Linked DNA regions of Homo sapiens: all the other regions are linked to region 1. The links are contacts of gene promoters, found by promoter capture Hi-C in human tissues and cell types (Jung and others, 2019). All regions are on one chromosome and are shown on one strand. The core of a region is centred on a gene start or on the middle of the fragment in contact, and the rest is flanking DNA. Distances in the headings are between cores, read along the strand shown. Region 1 holds the start of CLDN24 (claudin 24). Region 2 overlaps WWC2 (WW and C2 domain containing 2). Region 3 has its middle 55 kb from the start of CDKN2AIP.

The links. Contacts are between HindIII fragments. The study calls those that stand out against the background at their distance.
Region 2: a contact is called between a fragment that was not itself captured here and the fragment with the promoter of CLDN24 in region 1, in 2 of the 25 tissues and cell types used here (heart left ventricle and mesenchymal stem cells).
Region 3: a contact is called between a fragment that was not itself captured here and the fragment with the promoter of CLDN24 in region 1, in 2 of the 25 tissues and cell types used here (H1 embryonic stem cells and aorta).

What each region holds. Positions count from the first base shown.
Region 1 is chr4:183,320,825-183,324,213 of GRCh38, forward strand. It overlaps CLDN24 (claudin 24), which reads right to left and starts at 1,602. Exons shown (of 1, transcript NM_001185149.1): 1 at 940-1,602. The coding sequence starts at 1,602. The coding sequence ends at 940. The HindIII fragment of the contact is 4,220 bases long and covers 1-3,389 here.
Region 2 is chr4:183,225,897-183,229,285 of GRCh38, forward strand. All of the region lies in intron 4 of WWC2 (WW and C2 domain containing 2), which reads left to right. Among named protein-coding and RNA genes, the nearest start is that of WWC2-AS1, 13 kb to the right of the region's middle. The HindIII fragment of the contact is 3,146 bases long and covers 304-3,389 here.
Region 3 is chr4:183,387,607-183,390,995 of GRCh38, forward strand. No RefSeq gene overlaps it. Among named protein-coding and RNA genes, the nearest start is that of CDKN2AIP, 55 kb to the right of the region's middle. The HindIII fragment of the contact is 6,122 bases long and covers 1-3,389 here.

The DNA.
Region 1 (3,389 bases), core at 352-2,851:
TACATATACCACATGGCATATGAAGCAATACTGAACTACAGATCTAGTTTATTTATCTGCATGCCTTTCTGTCAAATTCACGCTTGTGTGCATAAACACTTTTTTTTCTTATATATGCTTTCTGTGCCGAGGAAAGTTCAGCATTTGGACTCTGCAGGTTGGAGTCAGCATTTCTGTTTATTCACCACTAAAGTAGATATCCCCATGTTAGCGATTTTTCATTGAACAAAGGAAAGGTTTTATTCAAATGACCTGACAATATCAGGATATCAAGAAAAATGTCTTTGGAATTGTTTTTCTTTTTTTAATACGAAGGTTTTGAGGGAAAGGATGAGAGAAGAGATTGGCCACCATTTTAAATCTGAGAGGATCACAAGGTACTGAAAACTCTTCAGCCTCATAAAATCTTGCCGCACTGAGTGCCTGGTAATATCCTAAAAACAAACCACTTCTGTTCAAAGAAGAAAAAGGTCATTGTTGTGGAAATAACACTTTGAGGTTGGCTTAGCATGTGGTTTTGCTAAAGTAGAACACTTAAAATTTTCAGATTGTTAGTTTTTTTCTTTAGGAAACAGAAACTAAAGATCATTTCTGACTACCAACAGCAACAACAAAAAAAAGAAAAACAGAAAAAAGCTTTCTAATATGAAATTTACACATTAAAGCTTGAAACTGACTGTATTGGACAGCCACCACATTAATTTCAATAACCAGATCAATGAAGCTTGTTTCACTTCTACCTGTATAATGCTTACCATAATCATTTTCTTTTAGATAAAAGATTTTTCCTTCATTATTCAGATTTTAGAGGGAAGTGGGTCTACCTACTGTAGAAAAATAGTGAATGAGAAAACGTGAGCATCACAGGTTTAGCTACAAAACAAAGAGGTCTTTGTCATCACAGTTGATACAGGATACATCTCTGGCCTTGTCGGAGTCTTACACTTGAGGATCTGCTGTCCCATCTTCCAGGTAGGGACACTGAGTTTGCATTTGCGCCACTGCATAGTGGCCCAAAGCTAGGGGAGCGTGGCTGGAGCAGGCTGCGCAGTTGAGCAGACACCCTCCTAGCAGAAGAGAAAGTCCAGCAAACCAGCCCAGAAACAGGGCCTCCCCAAACTCCCACCTGGGGACAAAGTCTGGGACGTTCTCATCCCAGAACTCCTGAACCGTCTTGTGGGCAACCCAAGAGACGGGAACCAGGGCTGTGATTCCCGAGGCCCAGGACAGAATTCCTCCCAGAATGAGCAGTCGCCTCTTGAGATCTCTCTGACTCTCTCCAATTCTCAAACAGTCCAGGCCAAACCCAGAGACCAGCAGGCCCAGAAATCCCAGCCCATTTGACAGAAACATTAAGATCCTGGAGACCCTGAGTTCAGCAGGCAAAGCCAGGAAGGAGTCAAAGTCCTTGCATTGCATCCCCACTTCCTCTTGGATGACACAGGTTTGCCAGAGTCCCATGGTCCAGTTTTCCATTTCATTTAAGTCCAGGTTGAGGTTCTTCCAGTGTGGCAAATAAGTTGTAATAATGGATAAAATCCATCCCAGGAGAGATAGTAAAAGTCCAACAGATTGCATTGCTGTTCTAAAGATTAAAGCCATTGCGACAGGTCTTAGGACTTTGCCACCCCTATAGGATCTGCTGTCCTTTGTGGTTGACGGTAATGTGACAATCTTGGTTCTATGCTGCCTGGAATATAAGCTGTGGTCATTAACTCTTTGGGCACTCTGAAATGCGTTTTTGTTCTTCTTGAATATAATGTTTCACGTAAAGGACGAAGGACTCTGTTAAAACTATGAGTTGGGCTTTCTGATAAGGACTTGATCTGTTACCTTCCAATTTGGTAAAATTATATCCCCAATGCTTGATGATTATAAGTCTAAGGATGAACAAAGAGGGCTCTATGACCCCTCACCCTAAAATACAACAGAAATCTTTGTGCTTCAGTATGGATTAATTAGATTTTAAGTGGTGATAAAAGGCCAGCTCTTTCTACAACAGGACTTCATTGTAAGAGCTGAATCTGAAATTTCAGGGATGCAAAACAAGGTCTTGTAAAGAAAGGTAGACTGTTTCCTATAATCTCTATTCTTCTCAGACTTCCTTAACCTACACAAGAGCCTGGCCCACATCCTCGAGTGTCGCAGGAGCTCAGAGTTGGCAGGAAGGTTCCTCGGATTCCTTTGAAAGGTAGAGGCTGGCTTACGGGACTGATTAAAATGAAAAGGACTGAGGCTGATGCTGGGGGCTACTGAGTGCGGAAGGGAACGTCCCGGGCAGTTCCAGCATTCACTCTGTGGTTTTCTCCATCCTCGTTAAGGACTTGGGGGTAAAGCATGATATCTTAGCGTCCAGGGAGGTGTTTTTTGTCCAGAGCTGAGCTGTCCCCTTGTCATTTCAGCAGCTTACGCAGAGCAACACCAGGCTTCAAGACTCCTGCCAGCTCCCAGACAAAAGTCTCTGGTACAAACACAATAGCCACAATGGAGCTGAACTTCGAGGCTTCATCTTGTTTATTTTTTTGGTTGAGGCCACACCTTGAGAGCATACTTACGCAGAGGGTTGACCCCTCAGAGAACACAGGACCGGCCTCACAGGCCAGGACAAGAGGTCACCTGCCCCAGATTCCCAGGGCTGCACCGTCTCCTCTCCACATGGCCCCTGGGCATCCTGCACCTGCTCAGAGGAGATAAAATCAGATGGGCCCACAGGACAGAAAAGTCCCTAAAGGTGGAGCCACTCCCCTGAGAGGTTCTAACCTGGAGAAGTAGAACCACTGCCCATCACGTTGCAACAGTGGAGTGTAGCCCAGGATCAGAAATTATCTTCTATTGTGTCTCTAAATAGGAGATCGGAGAGACAGAACATGGATCCCGATGTATCCAAATTACTTTGGATAAGATTGCATAAGATGTAGATTTGAGGTGGTACTTTCTTCAGCTTTTCCTATCATCTTAAGTTTAAAAAGAAAAAACTATGCACCAGATGAACTCTTCCTTAATTTTTACAAATTTTCAGAATTCCTGAGGATGTATTGGTGCCCCCACCATCCTGAAATAAGTCATTCCAGGGTGCTTAAAGGTACCTGGATCCAGAGGGCCGGAGACCTGTCTGGGGCCTCATCACCAGTGCACAGGATATGGCAAGCTTGAGCTCTCTTCCAGGAGGCAGTCGGGGTGGTGAAGGCCTGGAGAGCAAGTGGGAAAGATCATAGGGAGATGATTCTTAATATCACAGTGAAACGCTTTTTAAAAACCTAATGGAATAGGCTGCTCCGTGACGTAGTGAGCTCTCCCTGCTGCAGGCATCTAAGCCAAAGGTTATCACCTGCCAAGGTTATCACGGAGGGGATTTCTGCTGTGGTGGGTGTTGGACCTGCATAACCTCT
Region 2 (3,389 bases), core at 627-3,126, 95 kb before region 1:
CACCAAATATTGAATGCAGATTTCTTTCCATTACTCATAAAAATTAACCACATGCTAGTCATAAAGCTGCCCTTAAAAAATTAATACAATGGATTATGAGCATACTGTCCAGCCTGGATGCCAGCTAAGTTAGAAGTCAATAACAAAAAGCCGAAAAATGCAGAACTCGTCTGTGAAACTTTTCTTTTCTTTTCTTTTCTTTTTTTTTTTTTTTTTTTGATACAGGGTCTCGGCTCTGTCATTCAGGCTGAGTGCAGTGGTGGAATCACGGCTCGCTGCAGCCTCAGCCTCCCAGACTCAGATGATCCTCCTGCCTCAGCCTCCCAAGTAACTGAGACCACAGGTGGTATACTACCATGCCTGGCTAATTTTTGTATTTTATGTAGAGACAGGATTTTGCCATGTTGTCCAGGCTGGTCACAAACTCCAGGGCTCAAGCAATCCACCTGCCTTGGTCTACAGGAAACTTACACATACTTTCAGTATAATGCATGGGTTAACAAAATTAAATAGAAATATAGAAATAGAATTAAGTGGTCATAAAAATACATATAAATTTTGTAGGCTGCAACTAAAGCAGTTTTTAGTAGGGAATTTATATAGGCTTAAAGAAGAATACTAATAATAACTAAGCTTTGCATTAAAAATCTTAAGGAACAGACTAAACTGAAAGAAGACAGGGAGAAATAGAGATAAAGACAATAATTAATGAAAATTTTAAAATGGTTACAATAGAATAGCTCTGCAATATTTAAAAGCTAGAAAACAAACAAACAAAAAACACCAAATCAGGCTTTGTCAGGATTTCACAAGAAGAGAAGAGAGAAAGCACCAAAAAGCCAACATTAGGGGACTTTTTTTATCCAACCATTCAGTGGACAATATGTCCACACTGTATGTCTCCTTCTAGTGATAACTAAAAATTGTGAATGTAATATAAATGAAGATAAATGCAAGTCTGGATAAGGTAGAAAGAAAGATTTCATAGAGACTGTACACCGGGTTCAGAACTCAGAATAGTAAGCAGAACACTAAAGCTGGCTTTGCCCTGAGGAAATTTGATAAGCTAGGTGCATATTCCCTTCTATTGTGTCCCTTTCTTGGTCTCATGGTGACAGACCCCAGCTGCATCAAGTGGGGACTCAGACAGTCACTAAACCTTCAGTGTAAGAATACTAGAATTAAATTCAGCCAGCCCAACCACCCTAGCATACCTCCCACCACCACCACCACTACTTGTTGAAGACAGCAAGAAAGGTTGCCTATCTAGAGCAACAATGCTAGGTAGATAAAGGAGGAAAAAAAACATTGGGACCGTTGGATTTATCACCATCAGATACCCCTGAATTCACATTTACCTGGATGGTCTGAAAAAGCCCAAGCTAAACACTTAGCTGTGACAGTTGAAGCAGTGACAGATGGTTGTGCCTCCAGTCACTTGCAGATGCACGTCTTCTCCAGAGTAATACACCTTCAACTAGTGCTTTCAGTAGGAAAGTATGAACGCATAGCCCAAATCACAGATGTACAGAGAACAAAGAACTGGCAGGATAAAAAGAACAGACAATAGAATTTGATCTTCAGATGCTTGAGATTTTTGAGAAATTAGAGAAAATACAAAATATCCATGTTTAACATGTTTTTAAGAAATAAAAAAAGAGATTGGAAATATAAGTAAGGAAGATACCATGAAAATTATCAAGAAAATACGGAAACAAACTAAGTAGAAGTTCTACAAATTAATCACGTAATGAATTAAAAATCAAAGCTGGTGGGGAATTATTTGCAAAGGTCCAAAATTAGCAAGTAATAGCTTATTTTTTCATACCAATCGTGTTTTCTTATACCTTCAGTGTTCTATGAGAAAATAACCATTAACCAGAATGTTATACACAGCAAAACATCTTCCATACATATAGGTGAAATAAAGACATTTTCAGACAAAATTTGAGAGTAATGTATGGCATCAGTTGTTCACTATATTACTACAGAAAGCAGGAGAGGAGAGAAAAGAATAAAAAATACAGGGCAAATGAGTCTAATATAAGATGATAAACGTAAATCTCAGTGTATCAATAATTAGAATTAAGTGTAATTGGATTAAATGCTCTAGTTAAAAATACAATGGTTAAAAGACTGGATTTGGAAAGAAAATCTACCTATATGATACTTAAAGAGACACCTAACAACAAAGATACAGAAAAGTTAAAAGGACGGGAAGAAAAAGATATACCAATCAAATCCTAACAGAAAAACGCTGGTATACACAAATAAATAAGTAAATAAAGCTTTGTTAATGTCAGAAGTGATAGATTTTATGGCAAAATGCTTTACCGAAGAAAAAGGACCATGAGTCTGTAATGTGTCCGTTAAAATGTGGGCCCCAAAATATATAAAGCAAAAATTGGCAGAAAATCCACAATCATAGTGAGAGATTCCAATATAACGTTTGGTATTTGATAGATCAAGCAGATTTAAAAATTAGTATAGAATAGGTAAATACACGTGGTTGACAAGCTTTATTTAATTAATGTATACAACATGGAGCCTATGCTATATTGGGGTGGGGAAAAATGGGAAGCAAAAATATTTTTCAAGCACATTTAGCACATTCAGGAAAACTGACCATATTTGGGCCATTAGACTTGTTTCAATATATTTCAAAGTATTGGTTAGACCACATTCTCTGTAGTGAATTTGTTAGAAATTCATTTAAAAAATAACAACAAAGCTGTTTCCCACCTTTCAGAAAAGCTAAAATCCAAAAGACGAACAATATGAAGCGTCGTTAAGGATGTGGGGCAGCTGGAACTCTTTACTGCTGGTGGGAAACTGGCCTTTCCTAATAAAGCTGAACGTGTGCATGCACACCTGCTACCATGCAGCTCCACCCTAGAGTAGAGTGTTTGTAGTGTGTAGCCTGTGTCTGGAAGTATGTGTCTGTAGCCTAATGGATGAATGCATTGTGTATGGTCATGCAGTAGAAGCTCATCTAGCAATGCAAATCAACGTACACAACTGCATGCAGCAGCACAGTGTTGAGTGGGTGAAGCTAGACACAGAAGAGTACACACTGTATGAGTCCACTTATATTAAGTTCAGAAAAGACAAAACTATTTACAGGCCTAAACGTTGAGATAATGGTTACTTTTAGGGAAAAGGGAAGGTTTAGTAATTTGGAGGGCACAAGAGTGGCTTCTAGGATTCTGATAATGTGTTGTTTCTTCAGCTGTTGGCCATTACCTGGCTGTTGCTACTTCGAGGACACTCGCTGAGTTGCTACGCTTAAAGTTTTTTTACTTTCAGTGTGTATGTTGTACTTCTAAGAAACCTGGAAGCTACATAATTTGGAACTCTAGAGTAATACACTTCTAAATAATGGGTCAAAC
Region 3 (3,389 bases), core at 647-3,146, 67 kb after region 1:
CCTTCACTCCCTCTACTTTTTCTTTAGATGAAAAAGGCATGATTTCATCTTGCCAGATATTTGAGGATATTCAGATCAGGTGAGTCAAAGCCATTTGCAAATGTTATTATCTCTTGTATAAAAGTAGGACAAAATGAGAGTATCGTCTTCAAATCTGCAAATGAACCCAGGTCACCCAGATCTTCAGCAGAAATCAATAAACCCATAAACCCGTGACTGCTCATGACAATCAGTTTCTTTTTTGTTTTAAAACTGGCAGTGGCTTTCACTCTCTTTAAAGCTTTAGTCCTGCACTGGACTTTTTTCCTGATACTTCAGAGATCATCCTGGGAAATAAACCTGCCATGCCTTACCTACGGGCAAGGAGTCAGACCCCGGATTCTGACTTCCTGAGAATGATGGAAATTTGGATCCTTGCTGCTCTTCATGGATCTTATCCTGCCTGCACGCAGCAAGACAATGATCAAATTTTCAGGTGGAACTAGAGCTCCAAGGAGTCTGGCGGCTGGGAAAGGGATGCATCCCACTGGCCCCAACCCTATTCCAACTCCTTTCCTGGCTCTAACTAATGCCCAGGTTCTGGGATTTGCAACACATACCTCACCCTGTGGCCCCCCAGCCTCTCGGGATGCCCCTATCTTTTGGCCTGGCCTGACCTGGCCTGACCTGGCCTGGTTCTTCTCTACTACTTTGGGATATTTACGAAGTTTTCCATTCTTACAAGTCTAGCGCTGCTGCAGATCGTCTGGCTCTCTGGCTACAGCTCGAGAAATGTTCTCACCCACCCACACAACTGCTGGGTGACCTGAATGCACCCAAGTTCAGGTAACATGACAGAGATGGAGAGACAATTAGTTAGCTGCAGGCCTATATTAATCAGTCTCTCCAAATGCAGTCAAGGCACAGAGCCAAGGGGAGTTAGCCCTTTTTGATTGTTTGCATCTGAATTAAAGTAGTCGCTCCTTTCATCAATAGCAATTAATATTTCCTGAGTGCTTCCCAGTAGCATGGCATTGCATTAAGTCTTCCTAGGGCTTTTCACAACATAGAGGATGTGAAATTTCTGGTCTCGATGAGCATATAATAATAAGCAAGACATGACAATTAATTAGCAAATATTTACAGAGTGTGTATTTAGCCTAGCCATTTCGCTGGAAGCTTATACACCACAACTCAATAATCATAGAAGGGACCCTCAAATAGGTGGAGGCTGTCTCCAAAGCCCTGAGCTTCACAAAGGCGTGGGAGAGTTTGCTCTCACACTCTGGCCCCAGGCACCGCCAATGGTTTCCAACCATAAGCAGCACCTTCCTCTCAGGGAGTGCCTGGAAATGTATGGCAGCATTTGTTATCTGCCTTAGGCTACAAACTGGCATTTACTGTGTGCAGTACAGGGATGCTGATGTTCGACAATGTGCCAGACAGTCCTTCACAACCGAGAACTTTCCCACGCAAAATGCCTGTAGAACTCCTGTTGAAAGCTGACAGAGTAAAAGCTATGAAAATATTCAGAGGATTGAGGAGTCCTCTGGCGATTTTCCTCTCCCAGAGTTTGAGAAATCCTCTTTTGGAAGGGGAATGACGTTTGGAGGGGTGAGGGCCAGGTTAGCCCAAACTCTCCAGGAGCCTGACTGCTTCAGGCATCAGAGAGTAAGCCTCAGTGGTCTGTTCTGCTAACAAGTCCAGAAGATCATATTTTTCACTGTTATGGCTGAGTTACCTCTTTTGGAAGAAGTTAAGCAAGATTCTCAGTTTAGAATATTATTTGGTCCTTGTTTTCAACTCAACAGTCACATCACAGTGTGTCTTTCAGGGTAATGTTTCTTAATAATTGCGACCAATTAAAAAAAGGAAACAAGGAACATGAAGTATAAACGGACTAGCGCCCTGTAGTAAAATGTTCATCGGAGACCCCATAGCCACCTGAGCCCCAAGCTTCCCACGATGGTCTGTGTTATGGCCGAGCTGCCCGCAGATTTGCAGCAAGAGGCCAGTGAGGGGCAGCCTGAAACCACAGAAAGCAGTGGAACAGGTCGGGCGCGGTGGCTCATGCCTGTAATCCCAGCACTTTGGGAGGCCACGGTGGGCAGATCACCTGACGTCAGGGGTTCGAGACCAGCCTGGCCCACATGGTAAAACCTGGTCTCTACTAAAAAAAAAAAAAAAAAAAAAAAAAAATTAGCGGAATGCTGTGATGGGCGCCTGTAGTCCCAGCTCCTCGGGAGGCTGAGGCAGGAGAATCACTTCGACCTGGGAGGTGGAGCTTGCAGTGAGCCAAGATCGCACCGCTGAACCAGCCTGGGTGACAGAGCAAGACTCTGTCTCAAAAAAAAAAAAAAAAGAAGTGGAACAAGCTGTGGCCAACCCGGGGCAGGCATTCTGAGAGAGTAGCAGGGACGGAAAGGAGAATGACACCCAGCAGAAGCAGAATGTGGACGAGCAAGCCTGAATCTGCAAGAGGGGGCAGGGCATGTGGGGTAAGGCACCAGCGTTCCAACCCACTTGCAGCAATGCTCTTTGGAACCAGACTGAAGCGTGGCCTTGGAGAGCGGCATCTGGCTCTGAGGAAGCCACTGACGCCTTCGGGAAGGTGAGCCGTCTTCGTTCACTCACAAGAACAATTAAGGCACAATTTCTTTTTTAATTAATTAATTAATAATTTTGAGACAGGGTCTCACTCTGTCACCCATGCTGGACTACAGTGGTGCCATCCTGGCTTACTCCAGCCTCAACCTCCTGGCTCAAGTGATCCTCCTGCCTCAGCCTCTCGAATAGCTGGAACTGCAAGCATGCATCATGACAGTGGCTAATTTTAAATTTTTTTGTAGAGAGCGAGTTTCCTTATGTTGCCTAGGCTGGCCTCAAATTCCTGGGCTCAAGTGATCCTCCCACCTTGGCTTCTCAAAGTGTTTGGATTACAAGTGTGAGCCATCACGCCTGGCCTCAGGGGTTTCCTTTATCACTTATTACCACTTCTATTTTCTAAGAGATCCTTTTGTACATACAGCCTAAGACAGCATCAGTCCTTTTTCGCAGTGGTGATGTTATGGGCTCATATGTACCCTAAGTAATTACTCACTATTACTCCTTCTTCGAAAGAAGGAGGAAACTACATTGCTGTTTCTTAAACAGCAGCCTTCCCTGTTAGATATCTGTGGAATATTATTTCTCCCCAGGTGCATTACCTTACATTAACCTATACACTTATGCTAGGATTACATTATGCTAAATCAAAAGTGCATTTTTTATATAAAATATTTCCAACTTACCATGGGTTTACCTGGATGTAATCTCATGGTAAGTGGAGGAGCTACTGAATGCGTATTGCTTTTGCACCACTGTAAAGCTGAAACTCGTAAGTCAAACCATAGTAAATCAGGGACTATCTG